2 separate regions of the Homo sapiens genome follow, and region 2 is linked to region 1. Evidence: promoter capture Hi-C in human tissues and cell types (Jung and others, 2019). All regions are on one chromosome and are shown on one strand. The core of a region is centred on a gene start or on the middle of the fragment in contact, and the rest is flanking DNA. Distances in the headings are between cores, read along the strand shown.

Region 1 (4,798 bases), core at 1,820-4,319:
ATTAGAGCTTGTTCAACTTCTAAAGTCTTCACAAATTTCTGTATCAAATGCTTTTGGTAAATAAAATAACCGATGAAAGCTTAAATTTTCTCATAATGCTAAACAGACAAAATTTTAATAAAATAAGTCTTCTATAAATATACAGTAGGATTTTAAAAAGAAAATGTCCATCTTTTTCTGAGTTGTACTAAATATATATTTTAATCATGATTGTGAGGCAGTAGAGGTAAAACACATGGACTCTGGAGCCAGAATGTAAGCATTTGAAATCTGACTCTGCCCATTTTTAAGCTCTATTACCTTAGGAAAGTTACTTGACTTCTCTGAACATAGTTAAGTAAGCTAATACTTAGAGCAGTGTCTGGTATGCACCCAACAAGTCTTAGCTGTTATTAACCTGGAGGGAGTAATTATGACAAGCAGTCCCTCTCATTTAACTGGGAATTCTTGGAAAGTGAGAATACGTAATACACAAATTGCCTCCAAATGTAATGAAATTTTAATAATACTAAATCTAACAATTAATGAATATGACATAGTACATTTCAGAGACGTTTCATTAAACATTTATTGCTTCAATCTTGCAGCTTTCTTTCAGTATTCTGAGCCACTGTTTTTTTTTTCTTCTGTTCTTAAGTATTTTCATTGGCCCTTAAAAACTGTATGGGCCCTAAGTACTGTGTCTGCAGAACTCGACGGATAAAATGGCCTTAGCCAGAGTAAACGGGACGGCTGTGAACTCTAACCTTTCCAAGCCCCAAATGCCATTCCTGTGATAGTCTGCCTCTTGGAGAATATTTTCCTCAGCAAGTGTTTGGAAAGGTTTCTAGACATTTTCGAAAGGTTACTAAACAGCATTTGAAAGATAGGAGAGTAAGGCAAAATCCCAGATATTATTGATGAGCCAAAATTTTAAAATTACTGCTGGAAAAGCTCACTGTTTGTACCAAATCCTGGGCCAACACTGACCCTCCAATTGGGCACAGATAGAAGAAACAGTGATTTGGTAGAAGGTTGGAATTGGCATGGATCCAAGAGGGAATGTCCTTTTGAGTAGAATGGGACTGCTCCTTGAGAGACATGTGAGTAACACGTCATTTTGATTCCAGAGTGTTCAGTCTAATGTGTTTAGAGAATAAAATTAAGTTTTTACCTCAATATATAAAATGGGCCAAATATTATTTAATATTTCAAAGGGTTTGAATTTCAAATACTGTTATGTAGAAAAACCTATAAGAAGGAACATGAGAAATGGCTGCTGTTATTTTTAAATTCTAAGGCAGTGGCTCTCAAAGTGTGGAATGCTTTGTGTCATGAGACCACTCTGTAAGTGTGACAATGAGGGCAACAATATTTCAAAATAATCCCAGGACACCGTTTGTCTCTTCCACTGTGCTTACATTTGCCTGTTGAAAATTACATTGCAAAAGCAATGGTGGGTAAAACTGTTGATACCTTAGCATGAACTACAGCAGGGGTACCACACTGACTAACAGTGACTCAATCAGAAAAGGAAAAAAATACAAGAAAAACCAGTTTCACTCAAGAATGTCCTCAATGAAGCAGTAAGAATTTTTAATCTTATTAGATCTCAACCCTTCAGTACATCTTTTTTATATTATGTATGATATAATGGGAAGTAAACATAAGTGCTTCTGCAGCTTAACAAAGTATACTGGTTTTCATGAGGAAACGTACATAAGTATTTGAATTACAAATGTGTGCTTTTTTCATGGAACACTATTTTTTCTTGAAAAAAACTGACAACAAACTACAGTGTTCATAGTTGGGCATTTGGCAAGCATTTTTGCAAAAAATGGATGGAGGGAATCTGTCACTTCAAGGAAAACAATAAACCAGCTTGATAAATTTCAAGATTTTCAAGCTAAAATTAGAATTTTGAAAAATCTGCATTTGCTACCATGAGCTTGGCCTCTTCTCAGTACTCAAAGACTTTTCTGGTGAGATTGGTGGAGATATTAATGAAAATGATATTTTGATATTATATAATACAATGAGTTGACATTTGGAAGACCTACATAATTCAGTGAACCATTGTTTGCCAAATGACCAATACATGATATTATGCATCTATTCAAAATAAAAAATAGACCAGCGGCTATTAATATAACAGAGTATGAAACTTCTTTGATTTGGCCTAAAATGACACATTGCAGCTAACTTCTTAAAAAAAATCATTTGTCAAATTTTCATAAAGTAGCAAAGAATGATATCCTCAATTATCTGAAAAAGCTATGAAAATACTCTCCCCTTTCCATTTACGTAACTCCATGAGGCTATTTTTTCTTCATATACTTCAAAATAATATATCACAACAGATATAATGCAGAAGCAGATATGAGAATCTAGTTATCTTCTATTAATTCAGGTATTTAAAACACTTGCAGATATGTAAAACAATGCCACTCTTCTCACTTTTTTTTTAGAAAACCAAATTATTTTTTATGAAAATATATCACTTATGTTAACATGTAATGGGTTTTTAAATTTAAATTAATAACTAATTATCTAAGACTTTCTTAGTTTTAATGTCTACTATAAAATGTAGGTAGATATAACCCAAATAAACAAAATCTGTGTGATCCTCAATAATTTTTCATTTTTATTTTTATTTATTTATTTATTTATTTATTCATTTTGAGACAGAGTCTTGTACTGTCGCCCAGGCTGGAGTGCAGTGGTACCATCATGGCATACTACAGTCTCCACCCCCTGTGCTCAAGTGATCCTCCCACCTCAGCCTCCCAAGTAGCTGAGGCTACAGGCATGCACCACCATGGCTGGCTAATTTTTTTATTTTTTTGTAGCAACAGGTGTTTTTCTGTGTTCCTCAGGCTGCTCAACAATTTCTATGATTCAAAAAGAGCCCTATGACCAAAACTTTTGAGAACTGCTGTAGTTAAATATGTTTGTTCTAAGCCAGCAGTCATTGTGACATCAGCAGCAGGTCAATGATTACCATATGAAAGATTCCATGCAGTTGACTATTATTTCACAGAGCTCTCTGGTTGGGCTGCTCTATAAGAAGCTAATCACCTAACAGTGTCTATTGCTGTGGCTGATGATTTCCAGAGTGTTCTAAGATGTTATCAGGAAAGGCATCCAACAAATAGTAAGAGAAGGACCATTTCATTTGTACATTATTTCTTCCTGTGATTCTGTTTTCCAACACCTTGCCTCTTGTTTCACCATGAAAGATGTACACACTTCACACCAAAAGGGTAAAAGCTGCTGCTAGGCAGATGTGGACTTCAAATCTCTCCAAGGTCAGACAGTCTCTTAAAAATGTTTACCACAAATGTAAGATTCGGCACCAAGATTCAACTGGATATCCCACTGTGACATCTGATGATTGTAATCAAGATGATGATAGTTATGACGGAAAAATGAATCTTCCAGTAGTGCTCCAAGATGTTAAAACTGCTCAAGTTGAACTTTTCAGCCAAATGACTGACATTGTCCATATGATACCAAAAGTCCAGGAAAAGACTGACTTGTATCAAAAACAGATGGAGGTCCTGGAAACCAGAATGAATGTTAATGAAGACAAACAATGCACAACGACTAAAGATATCCTCTCTATGAAAGAAGACATCAAGGCATTAAAGAAGAAGGTGACAGAACTGGAAATTCAGAATTCCTGCTCCACGATACATTGTCTAGAGATTCTGGAGGGAGAAAGGGGTAAAGAAATCACAGAACTGCTTTACAAACTCATACAACCAGCAACTCTGAAGAACACTTTGGCCTCTACAGACATGGAAATCTCTTCAGCAGAACCAGAGAAAGTGCCCAGTTATCCAAAGTCCACTGACCATCTTGAGAAAAAAACAATTTCTCCCCAAATGAAAACTCTGAAGAAACGTAACCATCAAAATGCATCAAGGAGCTTTGAAAAAGCAAAGCCAAATATTTACATTTACCCAGACTTCAGTACATGGATCAAGCTAACTTTTGTTCATGGAGGAAAATGGACATTTTTCCTCAGTGCTACCAAGTTAGAAGAATTCATCCAGTGGCTTCTTTCTAGGCCAACCATTCTTCCTGAGGAACCCCAGGTCATAACCCAGAGATACTGTCCATTCACTGGGCCCATTTTGAGCTTGACCACAATCTGTCTCTCCATCTTCAACAATATTTACGGCTTTATTTGTTCCTTAAAAGAAGAAGTAACTCGACTATAGAGTTATGTTCTGCTTTGCTTGGCACAAAATAAATGTAACCTGGAGGCTCCAAGTATTCACACATTGGTGTGGTGGCTGTGAATTCTTCGGTAGTTTGCTCACTCTGGGCCCACTATCTGCAGAGTTTCTCTATGTCTACAGTAAGTTAAGGCACATGATCTAATTGAACTGTTGTAATTCGTTTTCTCTCAATGTTCTTGTTTTCTCAAAGGCAATTCATGAGGACTCATCCTGGGTCCATTTTCATAGATAATTGGAAACAAAGAATGAAGGAGTCCAGGGCAATGTGTAGTATGTTTGGTGGCCTCCATGTCAGTTTTCTATACACTTTGTCCTCGTGGCCTTTGTGGATACGGTTTGTGATACCAGAAACATACACTACTGACAAGACTTCATTTTATTTGTTATTTATTTTTGAAATGGAGTCTCACTCTGTCACCCAGCTGGAGTGTAGTGGTGCAATCTCGGGTCACTGCAACCTCCACCTCCCGGGTTCAAGTGATTCTCCTACCTCGGCCTCCTGAGTAGCTGGAATTACAGGCGCACGCTACCACACCCAGCTAATTTTTGTATTTTTAGTAGAGACAGAGTTT
Region 2 (5,279 bases), core at 212-2,711, 140 kb before region 1:
GGGACCCAGTGGGAAGTAACTGAATCATGGGGGCAAGTCTTTCCCATGCTGTTCTCTTGATAGTAAGTTTCATGAGATCTGATGGTTTTAAAAAGAGGAATTCCCCAGGCTTCCCCGGCCACATGGAACTAATCCAGTTAAACCCTTTTCTTTTGTAAATTGCCCAGTCTCAGGTATGTCTTTATCAGCAGCATGAAAAATGGACTAATACAGTAAATTGGTACCAGTAGAGTGGGGTGTGGCTGAAAAGACACCCAAAAATGTGAAAGCAACTTTGGAACTGGGTAATAGGTAGAGGTTAGAACAGTTTGGAGGGCTCATAGGAAGACAGGAAAATGTGGGACACTTTGGAACTTCCTAAAGACTTGTTGAATGGCTTTGACCAAAAGCCTGATAGCAACATAGATAATAAGGTCCAAGCTGAGGTGGTCTCAGATGGAGATGAGGGACTTGTTGGGAACTGGAGCAAAGGTAACTCTTGTTATGTTTTAGCAAAGAGACTGGCAGCATTTTGCTCCTGCCCTAGAGATTTGTGGAACTTTGAACTTGAGAGAGATGATTTAGGGTATCTGGCAGAAGAAATTTCTAAGCAGCAAAGCATTTAAGATGTGACTTCAGTGCTATTAAATGCATTCAGTTTATAAGGGAAGCAGAGCATAAAAAGTTTGGAAAATTTGCAGCTTGACAATGTGATAGAAAAGAAAAACCCATTTTCTGAGGAGAAATTCAAACTGGCTGCAGAAATTTGCATAAGTAACGAGGAGCTGAATGTTAATCCCCAAGACAATGGGAAAGGTGTCTCCAGGGCAAGTCAGAGGTCTTCATGGCAGTCCCTCCCATCACAGGCCAGAAGGCCTGGGAGAAAATGGTTACCTGGGCCAGGCCCAGGGTCCCCATTCTGTGTGCAGCCTAGGGACTTGGTGCCCTGAGTCCCAGGCACTCCAGCGGTGAGTAATAGGGGCCAAGGTACAGCTCAGGCTGTTTCTTCAGAGAGTGCAAGCCCCAAACCTGGGCAGCTTCCATGTGGTGTTGGGCCTGTGGGTGCTTACAAGTCAAGATTTGAGGTTTGGGAACCTCCACCTAGATTTCAGAAGATGTATGGAAATGTCTGGATGCCCAGGCAAAAGTTTGCTGCAGGGGTGGGGCCCTCATGGAGAACCTCTGCTAGGGCAGTGTGGAAGGGAAATGTGGGGTCAGAGCCCCCATACAGAGTCCCTACTGAGGCACAGCCTAGTGGAGCTGTGAGAAGAGGACCATCATCCTCCAGACCCCAGAATGGTGGATCCACCAACAGCTTGTGCCGTGTGCCTGGAAAAACCATAGACACTCAAGGCCAGTCCCTGAAAACAGCCAGGAGGAGTGCTGTACCCTGCAAAGCCACAGGGGCGGAGCTGCCCAAGACCATGGGAACCTACCTCTTGTGTGAGCATGACCTGGATGTGAGACATGGAGTGAAAAAAGATCATTTTGGAGCTTTAAGATTTGACTGCCCCGCTGGATTTCGGACTTGCATGGGGCCTGTAGCAACTTTCTTTTGGCCAATGTCTCCCATTTGGAATGGCTACCCAATGCCTGTACCCACATTGTATCCAGGAAGTAACTAACTTGCTTTTGATTTTACAGGCTCATAGGCAGAAGGGACTTGCCTTGTATCAGATGTGGACTTTTGAGTGAATGCTGAAATGAGTTAAGACTTTGGGGGACTGTTGAAAAGGCATGATTGATTTTGAAATGTGAGGACATGAGATTTGGGAGGAGCCAGGGGAGGAATGATATGGTTTGGCTGTGTCCCCACCCAAATCGCATCTTTAATTCTCACGTGTTGTGGGAGGGACCTGGTGGGAGGTAATTGAATCACGCGGGCAAGTCTTTCCCATGCTGTTCTCATGATATGAAAAAGTTTCATGAGATCTAATGGTTTTAAAAAGAGGAATTCCCGTGCACAAGCTCTCTCTCTTTGCTTGCTGCCATCCACGTAAGACATGACTTGCTCTTCCTTGCCTTCTGTCATGATTGTAAAGCTTCCCCTGCCACGTGGAAGTTTAAGTCCAATTAAACCTCTTTCTTTTGTAAATTGCCCAGTCTCAGGTATGTCTTTATTACTAGCATGAAAACAGACTAATACAATATGTCATACAAGAGAAATAGGAAATGATAGCACTAAAAGCAATGCTATGAACGTAACAGCCCCAAGCATTAAGGAATCAGGTTATTAATTGTTACCTGAAATAAACCATGTAAATGTTTTCTCAAAGTTTTATTTTTTAAAATCCATCATTGTGCCTTTGAAGTAGGAACTTTGGAAGTTTTAGAAGTGACACTCCTATAGTACTTATAGCAAAAACTACATCTTTCACGAGCAGTTTGGACTGGATTTCTACATCTATCATAACATGGATACATTTAATTTTCTAAATATCGAACGTTTCTTCTCCAGTCGTGTTCCTCATGGAGAAAGAGTCCCAGCAAAAAAACAAATGCTGAAGCAAGGCCCCAAGCTTCTAACTACTTTTGCTGAGTGACGGGGAACGCTAGCACCTTATTAGTTAATCCCAAGGGGAAGGTCTGCCATGCAGGAACTAGCAGCCCTCAGAGTCTAAAACGTGGAACATATAACATCCTACTCGCATGCTCACACATACGCATTTGCACATGGGCTGACTTACATCCAGGAGACAGCCCCTGAGCTCTTTACAAATTGCAGAGAAGCCCAGGAAATCAGCTCTAAAGATGATGTGCCTCTGCTCTGCTTCAGAGGCTCCAACTCATCCTAACTGCCCTGAGAGGTTTCCATGATCAAATCCAGGAGCAGGAGGCAGAAGAGCTGAGGCTCACAAATGGCCCATCCGGGCTTTTCCGTGGAGCCCGTTTCTGCCCGACCCCCCTGAGGAATGTAAACGATCTGTTCAGGACTGAACTGCTTTACCCTCGAGGATGTAAATTATTCATTACCCCCTCCTTCTTGCACATTTTGCCTTTCATTTGCTCCATCTACTCCCTGCTCTATCTTTACTAATTTATCTCTAAGCTACCTCAATTGCCTTCTGCTCTGCTCCCCTCAGAAACTTAAAAACGAAACCGGATTCATTAGCCAAATAACTGGATTAGAGTTCTCTTCAACATATCAGGCAGTAGAGAAAGTTGCTTTGTAATTTCTTTGATATTCAGCCTTTTAGAAAGCAATTCCTTAAATTACTCTGTTTAAATCTTTGAACTACTTAACTTTCTTTGATAGCACGCTAACATTGCACTAAAACCTGTGCAATGTTATGAAAACTTTAATTTCTGTAGTCAGTGCTTCCACATGAACAGCAGGGGGCAGTAGGATATCACGAATTGAAAAAATTGTCCTGGGCTCTGAGAAACACTGTTGAATTACTGCAGTGGGTCTGTGTACTCGTGATGATCTCAGCTCTCGGATGAAGTCTTTTGTTTTGTGTCCTATTTTACAATGCACCGTTCAGTTTTCTATATGAGTTGTGGCTTAGTCACAGTATTTCACTGTGACAGCTTAGCTTAAGAAAAAGAAAGGTGCAGGAGAAAAAAAAAAGGAGGAAAAGAGAAAGAGAACATGTAAATGCTTCCAAATAAAACACATCATGAAAAGGAAAAAGTAATCCTGTGTATACATATAAAGTTTGTCCCTTCTCTGTTCCTATCCTGGACACAGTTTTTCTAGATTACAGACTGAATTCATCCCTAGTCCTCCCCAACACACACACACACACGCACACATTTGCCATATAGTTTTCTGTCAAAACAGATTTCCTATAAAAAGAAAAACAAAAAATACAAAAAACTCTTTAAAAACTAATACTTGACTTTTTTAAAAAATTCAAAAAAATCTCTCATTTTCTGTCCTTTAATCAAGCTTCTGAGTATAGAATTTTAGTGTTTTCATGCTTTTTGAACATGTATTAGTCAAAATACCTTTCATTAATATGAATGTTGCAATAAAATTCTTCCTCTGTAAATGTACAGCTTCAGATAAATAGCCAAAAGCTATAGTTGTTATCTATATCTGATATGTTTGGAGGTAGGATATGAACTACAAACTGAAATATGAGAGACTTGAAGAACAGTCAAGGATTCCTGCAATCGTATGGGTTGGGAAAGGTGCTTTAGTAATCCAACCCCCAAAGTTAGCAAATACGAAGCTACTTTCATGCATAATTTGAGTTGTACCCAAAATATCATACCCGCAAGCCTAGTTTCCTCTCCTACCTAGGCTGGAATTCCCAGGGTTATTTATGTGTTCTCATAGAGTTATTAATTTATTACTGTGGTATGGCAGATGTATTATTTCAACATCTGGTACCAAAATTTCTCTTGAAGGAGGGACTCTCTGCTCCCTACTGACAGGGCCCTATCTGATCCTCTGGTCTTATCTCCTACTGTTCTCCTGCTTACCAACTTTGATCACACCAGCTCCCTTGCTGTTCCTTAGAGCACACTAGCTACTCTATGCCTCAGGGCCTTGGCCCTAGCTGTCCTCTGTCAGGAACAATCTTACCTCATTTATCCAAATGATTCATTCTTTTGCCTATTTCAAGTGTTTGTGCAAAAATCACTTCCTCCGTGAGGCCTTCCCTGATCACTATTTAAAATAGAATATTCTCCCCAGCATTTTTTATGCACCCTTTCTCCTTTATTTTCCTCAATAGCACGTATCACCATCAAATATGCTACATATTACACAGGTAAATATAATACAGGAGATAACTGAGACCAAACATATCAGCCAACAGAGGGCTCAACCTCAGTGTTAAAACAAAAAGAAAAACAGGTTGATTTCAAAGGAAAATCCAACTCTATGCTGTATATAAAAGACAAAGACCCACCTAAAACAAAACAATTCAGAAATGCTAACAATGAAAGGAAGGATGGGTAAAGTTCTACTGAGAAAATGCAAATTAAAAAAAGAAAGAATTGAGATTTTGCAATTCAATAAAATAAAATTCAGACCAAAAACCATTATTGAGACAAAGAACATCTTATAATCCTAAAGGCTACAATTCCCAGTGAAAATAAAAGATTTATGAAAAGGTATGCAGTGAATAACACAGCAGCTACTTTCATACAGTAGGAATTATAAGAGATTCAAAGAGAAATTGAAATACACTAATAATAGCAGACTATAGTACATTTCTCTTAATTAGACAAAAAAATACAAAAACACTTAGAAAATTGACTCTAATTTACAATACAGACATGTATGCCCCAGTAAATCACATAAAAATGATCTAAATATTCACCATAATATGATAAAACCAGAAATT

Evidence for each region. The method cuts DNA at HindIII sites, captures the fragments that hold promoters and counts their contacts. A contact is called where the count stands out against the background at its distance.
Region 2: a fragment that was not itself captured here is called in contact with the fragment with the promoter of CCDC54 in region 1 in 2 of the 25 tissues and cell types used here (H1 embryonic stem cells and dorsolateral prefrontal cortex).

The regions. Positions count from the first base shown.
Region 1 is chr3:107,374,370-107,379,167 of GRCh38, forward strand. CCDC54 (coiled-coil domain containing 54) reads left to right here and starts at 3,070. Exons shown (of 1, transcript NM_032600.3): 1 at 3,070-4,266. The coding sequence starts at 3,219. The coding sequence ends at 4,205. The HindIII fragment of the contact is 13,990 bases long and covers 1-4,798 here.
Region 2 is chr3:107,232,722-107,238,000 of GRCh38, forward strand. The region is part of intron 1 of LINC00882 (long intergenic non-protein coding RNA 882); the gene reads right to left. Among named protein-coding and RNA genes, the nearest start is that of LINC00882, 5.3 kb to the right of the region's middle. RefSeq lists a silencer at 3,213-3,262. The HindIII fragment of the contact is 3,445 bases long and covers 1-3,184 here.